3 separate regions of the Homo sapiens genome follow, and all the other regions are linked to region 2. Evidence: promoter capture Hi-C in human tissues and cell types (Jung and others, 2019). All regions are on one chromosome and are shown on one strand. Each heading gives the region's core, a stretch centred on a gene start or on the middle of the fragment in contact. The rest is flanking DNA. Distances are from core to core; before and after follow the strand shown. Region 1 has its middle 34 kb from the start of MAP2. Region 2 holds the start of MAP2 (microtubule associated protein 2). Region 3 has its middle 60 kb from the start of MAP2.

Region 1 (3,212 bases), core at 132-2,631, 33 kb after region 2:
ACACTACATTGTAGAAAAAGGCAAGCAAAGCACATTTTGATTATTTCACTCTTTTGTAAGAGGCAGGCCATCAATGAAGGCAAAGTTTGATAAGCATGTGACATGGAACTGTATTAAATAATCTGGAAATTCCAGTCTGTCCTTCAGATTTCAGGATGGCAGTGTTCCCAGAGAAGTTACTCATCCTGTTCCTAAAAACTTCAGAGAAAGAATTTTCTGCCTTAGTAAAGCATCCTACAGTTTGCCAGTCACAACGATGTAGAAAGGCTTCCAAATATCTTGCTGCATTCCTGCTGCAGTTGGCCTGATTGTGCCCCTATTGGAGATGGAAAAGTCCGAATGGAATTTGCTTAAAAGAAATTCATTATGTATTGTAGAAAAAAAATTGATGACACTAACAATTCACTTTGCAAAAAGTTTTTTAAACTTTACATAGCAAATTTATTGTTAAATAAAATAGCACTTTTCATCTATTTATAAAATAGGTTCAAAATCAAACAGATAAATTTAAATACATAAATATACAAATATTCTTGTGGTAAGTGGCTTAATGGAAGAAAATTCTCCTTTGGGTTCCTAAAACTTTTAGTTACCAAAGGTCTAGATAGCTGAAGTCACCTTTGAACAATTTTAGTTAGTTTTGTTTATTGAAGAATTTAAAAAGGGTAAAACCACAAAGAATGAGGGAGAGAACGAAGAAAAAAGACGAGAATGTCTTGTAAAATTGAATGTACTTGAAAACTAACATAGAACGATCTAGATGTCTGAATTTTACTGAGATATATCAAAAAGCTGTTTGACTCTGTATAGACTAAAAAAAGTTTGTTTGAAAAAGCATAGGAAAGTTTTGTTTTTACTGCTTTTTAAAATAATAACTAACATAAATGTTAATAAGTTGAGCATATTTTCAAAGAAGTGAATTTAATAAGCTTTCCACATTCAATATATACATTAATTTTTTCTAATAACTTTTTAAATGATAAGAATAATGCCTTCTTATATGGTTTTATTATTAACCAAACAAATTAAAATATGTTAGAGTCCATTAGGCAATTAGGTAAACAATGAACTGCTTACTTTGGAGGCAAAACACATTTGGGCAACTCGACTATTATCAAGTAAATAAGCACTTTAGAGCACTAAATGGTACCCTAAGGAATAGGGTATAGTGAAATAGTGGTATAGTGAAATGATTAAGTGGTAATAGTTAATATTTATTGAGTGCTTATTGTAGTCAGGCACTACTGAATGCTTCATAAATATTAGTTTATTTATTTTTTACAACTCTATGATGGAAGTACTATTTTTATTTCTATGTCATATATGTGGAAACTGAGGTCAGAGAGAATATGGAAGCTGCCCAAGTTCTAAGAGTCCAGAAGGGACAGATTCAGGAATGGAAACCAGGTTGTCAGATCCCAGGAACACACCCTTTTATCTACTGGATAACATTACTCTATCATAGGGAGGCCCAAGGCAGAAGTCAGGGATGTTATGGAGAACAAATGAGCAGAGTTCAGATTTAATGTCATTTCCTGCTATGCAAAATTAGATGTGCTGGTGCTTTCTAACTTTCTTACATTTGCCAAAGGAAATGATGAATATACAGTGATCAGCACTAAAAAGAGTTACTTGTTTTTTGTTTTGTTTTGTTTTTGAGATGGAGTCTTGCTCTGTTGCCCAGGCTGGAGTGGACTGGTGCGATCTCGGCTCACTGCAAGCTCCTTCTCCCGGGTTCACGCCATTCTCCTGCCTCAGCCTCCTGAGTAGCTGGGACTACAGGCGCCCGCCACCAAGCCTGGCTAATTTTTTGTATTTTTAGTAGAGACAGGGTTTCACCGTGTTAGTCAGGATGGTCTCGATCTCCTGACCTTGTGATCCACTCGCCTCGCGGAGTTTCGCTCTTGTAGTTCAGGCTGGAGTGCAATGGCGCAATCTCAGCTCACTGCAACTTCCGCCTCCAGGGGTCAAATGATTCTCCTCAACCTCCCAAGGGACTACAGGCACCCGCCACCACACCCAGCTAATATTTTGTATTTTTAGTAGAGACAGGGTTTCACTATGTTGGCCAGGATGGTCTCCAACTCCTGACCTCAGGTGATCCACCTACCTCGGCCTCCCAAATTGCTGGGATTACAGGCATGAGCCACCACGCCCAGCCCAAGAATTACAGTTTTTTGTTTGTTTGTTTTTAATGTAGAATTAGAAAGCTAATCCTTCTAAATCCCAACAAAGTGGTCCATGCAGGATAAAAATATATCCTTAGGTTGTTTCAAAATGAAAATGTTATACAATGCACAGCAACCTGGTGCAGTGCTAACTAGATTCTTAGAACTTCAGCTTTGCTCTTGGTATCCTCTAAGGGATATCAGTTTATATAAAAAGTCTTATTGTCAGATAGAACATGGCATCATATTTTTCAGTTGGTAACTTGAAGATCCTTTGAGATAATCCTGTTCAATTCTGTTATTCTAAAAAGGAAGAACCCAAGACTCAAGTATTACTGTAAGCAGTAAGCAGGAGTGATTAAAACCTAAGCCTTCTGAATCTTTGTGTTTAATATTTCCAGACAGCTCACGTAAGTAAATAGAGGCACTATAGGCAGAATGCCTGCATCCTTCAGCCCTGATTTCCTCCTGCTTTGTACTCTGAATACTCTATTAGCTTCAAGAAAGAAAAATGAAGAGAAAGCTTCGGGATGGAATTTTATTGCTCTCAAGAGGTGTCAGAAAGTCATGAAACCAAAGGAAGGATTATCCCCTTCTGACGGGCAGGGGATAATCTTTGCTATTGTGGGTATAGCGGTCTGACAGGACTAGTGACTCCCTGGGGCTATTTGATATTTCTTAAATAAAGAGCCTTTGGAATACCTTGCCTGAGATAGGTTTCCATGGAAACAGTGGAGTCAGCTGCACTCGGTTAGTAAAAGATTTCACCAATTTGCTTACCTTCCAAAACATGGTTAGTGCAGACTCTCAGAACAGAAGCTCTACCTCTAAAGCATTTGACATTGACCGCTGACTGTTTCAGGAGGTCACCTTTTAAATGCTATTCTGCAATCAATGATGCTAAAGCAGTCTGAAAAAAATTCTGTTAAGGGTTGTCAAGCTGACAATAGTCTCACTATGGAGCTTGAAGTAAGAATGCCTGTGTTAAAAAGCCGTAAAAGCATCTCCAGCTCCTTCAAGCCCCCTGCCTCCACTCTTCACCCT
Region 2 (3,524 bases), core at 753-3,252:
CATACACACACAAATATAATAATCCTTACTGAATGAGAAAAATGCCTTTTTTCTTGAAGGAAGGGTTCTTTGTGTGCATGGGGCTGGGGCTTTTGGAACATCCATGATTTGCAAATTCACAAGGATTTCTACCAAAATACACCTATTGCCCGGTTAAAGGGCTGCTTTGTGTTATATTCTGATGGAAGGCTGTAATCTTTTCCCTGGGCATAAAATTAAAAGCATTCTAAAGGGCTTCTATTTATTCAATCTATTTGACTGCCAAAAAAAATCATAATTGTCCACAGTGAAATGACATAGTGAAAGAACTATGCTTTTGAACTGGGCTGGTACCTGCAGCTCATGCATGGGACATTTTGCATAATGTGGCTCACATAGAAGGCTTTGTTCTCCATCGCCTCACTGTGGCTGCAAACCTCAATTTCAGTTTGCAATCATTTCCTTTTCTAGACTGATCATTTTAAAATAAATTATACCTTTAACATTTAAATTAGTTCCTTACCAACAGTCATCAATCCCTTTGCCTCACACCCAAAATTATATACCACCCAACAATATTTTTTTGTTTTGCACTACAGATTTTATTCACAACATAATTTCCAAACCCTCAAATACAATTTTAAAAAATCAGTCTCTTAAGTACCTATTTCCTTTTGTAACATGTATATAGTGTATTATACATTTGTGTGCATACTTGTGTGTTTAGGCATTTAAACAAAAACCCTTTACACCGGACTCAATTTTAAAGCGTCTATGTCCTGGAAGCATTGTGCTAAGAGCTTACGACAGATGGCACACAGCAATTGTCACAAACGGGCTTGTTGCTAATGAAAGCTTTTTATTTTCTGACAAAAATCCTGAAGTCCGGATGCCAGGCAGAATAACATTAATTTCCAGTTTTCAAGGATTTTTTTTCTGACTCCATCCATACCCCTCCCCCTATACACACCCAAATATACAGCTCCCCACTCCTAGCCCCCCACACACTCTTTCTTGAAATTTCCATCCTTAAACAAAAGACGAGGTGGGGGAAGGCAGGCAGCCAGCACTGCAGTCCTCCTCTCCCCACCAAAAAAGCCTTTTAAAAAGAAAAGGAAGAAAAGAATAGATGCACTGTAGATTCAGAGGTCCACCCCCAACGTTTAAAAAGAAAAACGACTGTGTGGAAGCCTAACCAGACTCATTTCTTCGTGCCCCGCCCTCCAACACCACCAGGCATTTATTTTTCATTTTCCTACAATTATAAATATCAGTCCTCCTCTCCCAGCTGTTTCTGAAGGAATTACAGAGAAACATGATTTGAAATGGACAAGGCTTCCCTCACTCACTCACTTCCCAGTGTGCAGTTCTCTGCAGCTGGATGAACAAAAAAATCCCCTACCTCGATTTCCTATTTTCCACTATCTTTGTAGAATCCACTCCCCTTCTTTCCACAGCGCAGGTAATACTGGCTTTCGATACACGTATTCTAACCTGGCGTAAGTTTTCAGTTGTTTCAAAGTGGTACCTAACAAGCTCACTCGCTCTTCTACGAAGCCAGGGCTCAGGTACCAGTAGCGTCCGGCCCCCTGCTCCGCAGTGACACCTGGAGAGGACAGGCCCGAATCTTCCGCCAGGTGCACGGCTGGCCACTCGACCAACTACCAGACTGCCTGCTGCGAGTCCCAGAGGACGAGACACAACCCCTCCCCATTCCTATCTCTTTCTACTCAGAGACCGAGGCAAAAGGAGAGGCGCCCTACATAGAGCCAGAGGTGGGGACGGTCTCTTACCTGGGCGCAGAAACTGGATGCACCCGCGGTCGCGACTGCCACCGCTCACGGACTTAGCGCCCTCCGGAGAAAAAGGAGAGGGGTAGAAGGGTTAGGGGAAGAAGGGGAGGGGGGGGAAAAAGAAGGAGAAGGAAGAGAAAGAAGCGGAAGGGAAGTAAAGGAAGAGAGGATGCTGCTGCTGCTGCTGCTGCTGCCCAGAGCCCGCGCAGCCCGAGCGCCCGCCCCAGACTGAGAGCGGCGCCCCCAGCCGGCTCCCAGCGCAGCAGCTCCGCCTCGGCCCCTCCTCCCCGCCCCGCGCAGGTCCCGCCCCGCGCAGGTCCCGCCAGACTCCGCGAGCCCGTGGGCGGCCGCGGCGGGGCTGGCGCTGCCACCGCCGCAGTGTCCGGGAGGGGGAGCACGACCGCTTCGCCTTCTGCCGCAGCCGCCGGCCGCCAGGCGGGGACCGCGAGGTGGGAGCCTCGGAGAGCCCCGCCCAGCCGCTGGCCCGGGCCTTCTCCAGAGCCCTGGTCCCCTCCCGCGACAAAGTGAGGCCAGTGCCCGGGCGGCGGGACAGGCGGGCCTTCCTCACTGGCGTCCTTGGAAAATCGGGGGCAACAGCTTTAGTCTCTCGGGAGCAACCTCCGCAGACCCCCTGCTTCCCTCCCCTGTGTCGCTATGAGGCGGGGTTGCCAGTGGCACCTCACCAGGAAAGCTCACTGGCCTCGCCTCACAAACCCAACCACAGGTGCATCCAGAAAAGACAAAGGAATGTGGGGCGCTTGAGAACATAGAACAACTCTTGTCAGCACTAAAGGAGCAATGGCTGAGGGAGTAGAGAATTCTAGACCCAGCTCTGTCACGAATTAGATTCATTCATTTATTGAGTCAACGAATGTTTATTGACACCTACTATGTGTCAGGCACTCTTCTAAGCATTAGAAACATCAGTGACAGACCTTTCCCACAACCCTAATAAGAAAGATCCCCTCCCTTTATAGTTATTACATTCTAGATAGCCAGACGTATGCTCTAGAGACAGTTCACTTAATCTAACTCTCAGTGTATTCATGTGTCATATGAGAACTAAAAATGACAGCCCAATTCTCTTATGCTTAAAAAGATAATGAATATGAAGGATCTTTGAAGAATGATACAAATACAATGAATTAGAAAGCACGGAAAGTGTTGACCTTGAAATATCACCCTTAAAAAAATTGCCTCTTAAATGCTTTTGAAAGTGAAATGACCACCTGAGAAAACAAATGATTCTTTACCATTCGTACTAAGGAGTATGAATCTTCATAATCAGAGAGCAGCATTTTATTGTAAGTAAGAAAAGTAAGATGCAACTTAGAATTACTTCGAGTGTCTATATCAAGTACTGACAAGGTGTTTTTAAGGTCAGCCAACATACTGAGGTGTGGCTTGTACAGTCTTCACAGTGCTGATGAAACAGCAGCCATAATGTGGTTCTGTCACTTAAATTAACCACAGAATCTTAGAACCTAGAACATTAGAGTTGATGTTTTAGGCAGCTGGTCTAATTTCCTCCATTTTCAGATGGAAAGAGACCCAATGGTGGGAGCCTGCAAGGATTAGAAACCATCACAGAGGAAGCTGTGAAAGCCTGCCCTCCCCAGTCACACCCAGTGCTCTGTGTCCTGCCTCCCCCGCTCTGCTTCATACCATGTGCCAGTGACGCTTGCAGTGAGTTTGGAAGTATCAAGGCACACCCAGGAGCTGGGAGGTTGGAGGAGTTGATGCTCCTCCTCG
Region 3 (3,209 bases), core at 281-2,780, 60 kb after region 2:
ATAAAATACAACCAAATCAGGAATACAAGGTATCTTCTTTTAAACTGTGTAATATAATAGCTGAAGTTGGATGAAAATATTGTTTTAAGCTTCTCATAGAAGACATTTTTGAGATTCAGTATATCCAAGGGATATGCCTGTATCAAAATATGCCATGCACCCCATAAATATATATACCCACTATGTACCCACAAAAATAAAAAATAAAATAGCAAGTGCAATTAGAAAAAAAGCCAGATGCTTAAGAACTATATAAATTTCCATTGTTCTGAAAGAAATTTTCCCCAACAATCTTCATAATAAGCTATTTCCTGATATAATGATCAATTGCATTCAGGATTGATATTCAGCTAGTATGCATTAGTACAGGCATCCTGGTTGTTAAAATGTTGAAATATCATACCTTCTTACTGATTGGTAAATAGCCACCGCTTTGAATGCTTTCTCTTTACCCATTTCTGCTGTGGACCCTCTCTCAGAAGTCTCTGCTAATCTTTATCCTCTCCCTCCAGGAGCCAGTGATGAAAACTGGTGCAGCAGGGGTGGGGGAATCTTCAATACCTGCTGCAATACTCTGGGGCTGTTTCTCCTGATTGGTCAGTACCAGTGCCTCCTTACTTGTTAAATACAGCATGTGGCCTATTATCCCTGATTATTATTTTTTTTTTAATAAGACATGGTCTCATTCTGTTGTGCAGGCTGGAGTGCAGTGGTGATCATAGCTCACTGCAGCCTTGAACTCCTGGGCTCAAGTCATCCTCCTGCTTCAGCCTCCCTAGTAGCTGGGACTACTGTTGCATACAGAAAATCGTCCAAGCTCATTGTTTTGGTTTTCGTAAGATGACCTTTGTTTATCGCTGCAAATCTTGTGCCACCACATCCAGCTAATTATTAAATTTTTTTTGTAGAGACAGGGTCTCTCTATGTTGCCCAGACTGCTCTTGAGCTCCTGGCTTCAAGTGATCCTTTCACCCTGTCCTCCCAAAGTGCTGGGATTATAGGTGTGAACCACTGTGCGCAGCCTCTTCCCCATTTAAAACAATATACTTCTTGGAACTTAACATACTTCATTCCTGGCTTTACATATCCACTTGGGTTTCTGACAGGAACCTCAAACTTCACATCATAAATGAAGTGTTTTAAAAAGCTGAATGAGTAGTTAAATGTTGAGTAGTTAAGTATTGAGTTTTATGTATTCTCCCTAGTAGCTTTCTCAACCCAAGCTGATGGTCTTATGTCGAAGTATTATATAATTTATTAAAAGCAAATTTAGGAAGACCAAAGAATTTATACTTCTAGATAAACAGAATAACCACTTATTATTCTGGCAATGTCCCAAATAAGATTATTTGTCACAGTAAAAATTTTAATGAGAATTAGCAACAAAATGTTTCAGATTTAAATTTGGCGACAAGAGCAGCTGTTTTGTGTTGCTAACTAAGGACAGAACAGGCGTTGATAATATGCAGGTTGAGGAGACAGATCAAAACTTTGAGTGAAATTGGAGATGCCAATCAGGACAGTTATCTGGACAGATGGCCACTTCCTCTCAGTACTGAGGTAGCAGAGGATTTTTCTTCAGAAAATAGTTCTGGGTCCATGCCAAATTTGAAAGAAAGAAAAAAAAGAGCACCCAAGTGCATTTGTACACCAGAAATCGTGACCGTGCTATGCCATTATGAGGAATTAACAAAGCATGTTTAACTAACTCTCTTGATGATCATATTTTTTGAATTTTAAATCAACTTTATTAAGACATCATCTAAATACAATAAAAAAGAGCTCATTTTAAGTGTACAGTTCAGAAAGTTCTGATAAATGTAGTTGCCCATGGAGTCCATCTACCGTCAAGGTATGTAATATATTCATCACATCCAAATAGTTACTCCATAGTCAATTTCTTTCTGGTCAATAACCGCACCCCCTCCCAGTACCATAAGCCCCAGGCAACCACTTATATGGTATCTATCATTATAGATTAGTTCTGCTTATTCTATAATTTCTTATTAATAGAATTGGTCAATAATTACTTTTTGGTGTTTGTCTCATTTTCTCAGCATAATATTTATGATATTCATCCATATTATAGTCTATTTTTTATTAGTGAATAGTATTCCATTGTATAACTGTAACAGTATATTTATTCTTTTTACTGTTAATAGGCAGTAGAGTGATTCATGGACATTAGAGTTTGATTCATGTTAGTAATGTTGCTATAGAAATTTATTTGTTTATAAAAATTTGTGTGAGCATACCTAAATTAAATGTTTTAGATTTTATTTTAACTTTTTTTAGACTTATAGAAAAACTGCAATAATTCCAATTTACTCCTTACCCAAATTCCCCTAGTGTTAGCATCTTACATAACTATGGTACATTTATCAAAACTAAGAATTTTATATGGATGTACTACTACTGATTATAGACTTTATTTGAAGTTCCCCAGTTTCGCCACTAATGTCTTTTTTGATCCAGAACTCAGTCCTGGGTACCACATTTCATTTAGTTGTCATGTCTCTTTAGTCTCCTCTGATCTATGACAGTTTCTTAGCCTTTTCTCACCTTTTATTACCTTGACACATTAAAGAATAGTGGTCAAGTATTTAGTAGAATGTCCCTCAATTGGGTTTACCTGATTTTTTAAATGGTTAGCATGAGGATATTAATTTTGTGAAAAAATATAATGGAAGTGATGTGTCCTTTTTAGTGATAACAAGCCAAGATGATAAATATCTGCAGTAAAGCTATGCACTAATTGTCAATCATAAAGCGTTTTGTGATATATATATCAGAGATACATGATATATAGCAGTATATCTTAGGACAGGTGATGTTAATCTTGATCCCTTGGTTAAGGTGGTGCCTGCCAGGTTTCTTAATAAAAATGAAGTAATTATTTTTAGCTTTTTAAACTCTAGTCATTAGCAATGAGCCACTAAGTCCCAAATAAGATTATTTGTCACAGTCAAAATTTTAATGAGAATTAGCAACAAAGTGTTTAAGATTTTAATTTAGTGACAGGAGCAGCTGTTTTGTGTTGCTAAAGACAGATCCGCAGGCATTGATAACATGCAGGTTGAGGAGAGGGATCAAAACTTTCAGTGAAACTAGAGGAGCCAATCACTTGGTTAAGGTGGCGCCTGCCAGGTTTCTTAATAAAAATGAAGTCATTATTTTTCTCTTTTTAAATGCAAGTCATTCGCAATGAG

What was found. Contacts are between HindIII fragments. The study calls those that stand out against the background at their distance.
Region 1: a fragment that was not itself captured here is called in contact with the fragment with the promoter of MAP2 in region 2 in 1 of the 25 tissues and cell types used here (hippocampus).
Region 3: a contact is called between a fragment that was not itself captured here and the fragment with the promoter of MAP2 in region 2, in 3 of the 25 tissues and cell types used here (H1 embryonic stem cells, aorta and hippocampus).

The regions. Positions count from the first base shown.
Region 1 is chr2:209,388,929-209,392,140 of GRCh38, reverse strand. No RefSeq gene overlaps it. Among named protein-coding and RNA genes, the nearest start is that of MAP2, 34 kb to the left of the region's middle. The HindIII fragment of the contact is 3,846 bases long and covers 1-3,212 here.
Region 2 is chr2:209,422,525-209,426,048 of GRCh38, reverse strand. It overlaps MAP2 (microtubule associated protein 2), which reads right to left and starts at 2,002. Exons shown (of 16, transcript NM_001375505.1): 1 at 1,773-2,002. RefSeq lists a silencer at 1,932-2,321. The HindIII fragment of the contact is 7,301 bases long and covers 1-3,524 here.
Region 3 is chr2:209,362,592-209,365,800 of GRCh38, reverse strand. No RefSeq gene overlaps it. Among named protein-coding and RNA genes, the nearest start is that of MAP2, 60 kb to the left of the region's middle. The HindIII fragment of the contact is 5,849 bases long and covers 1-3,209 here.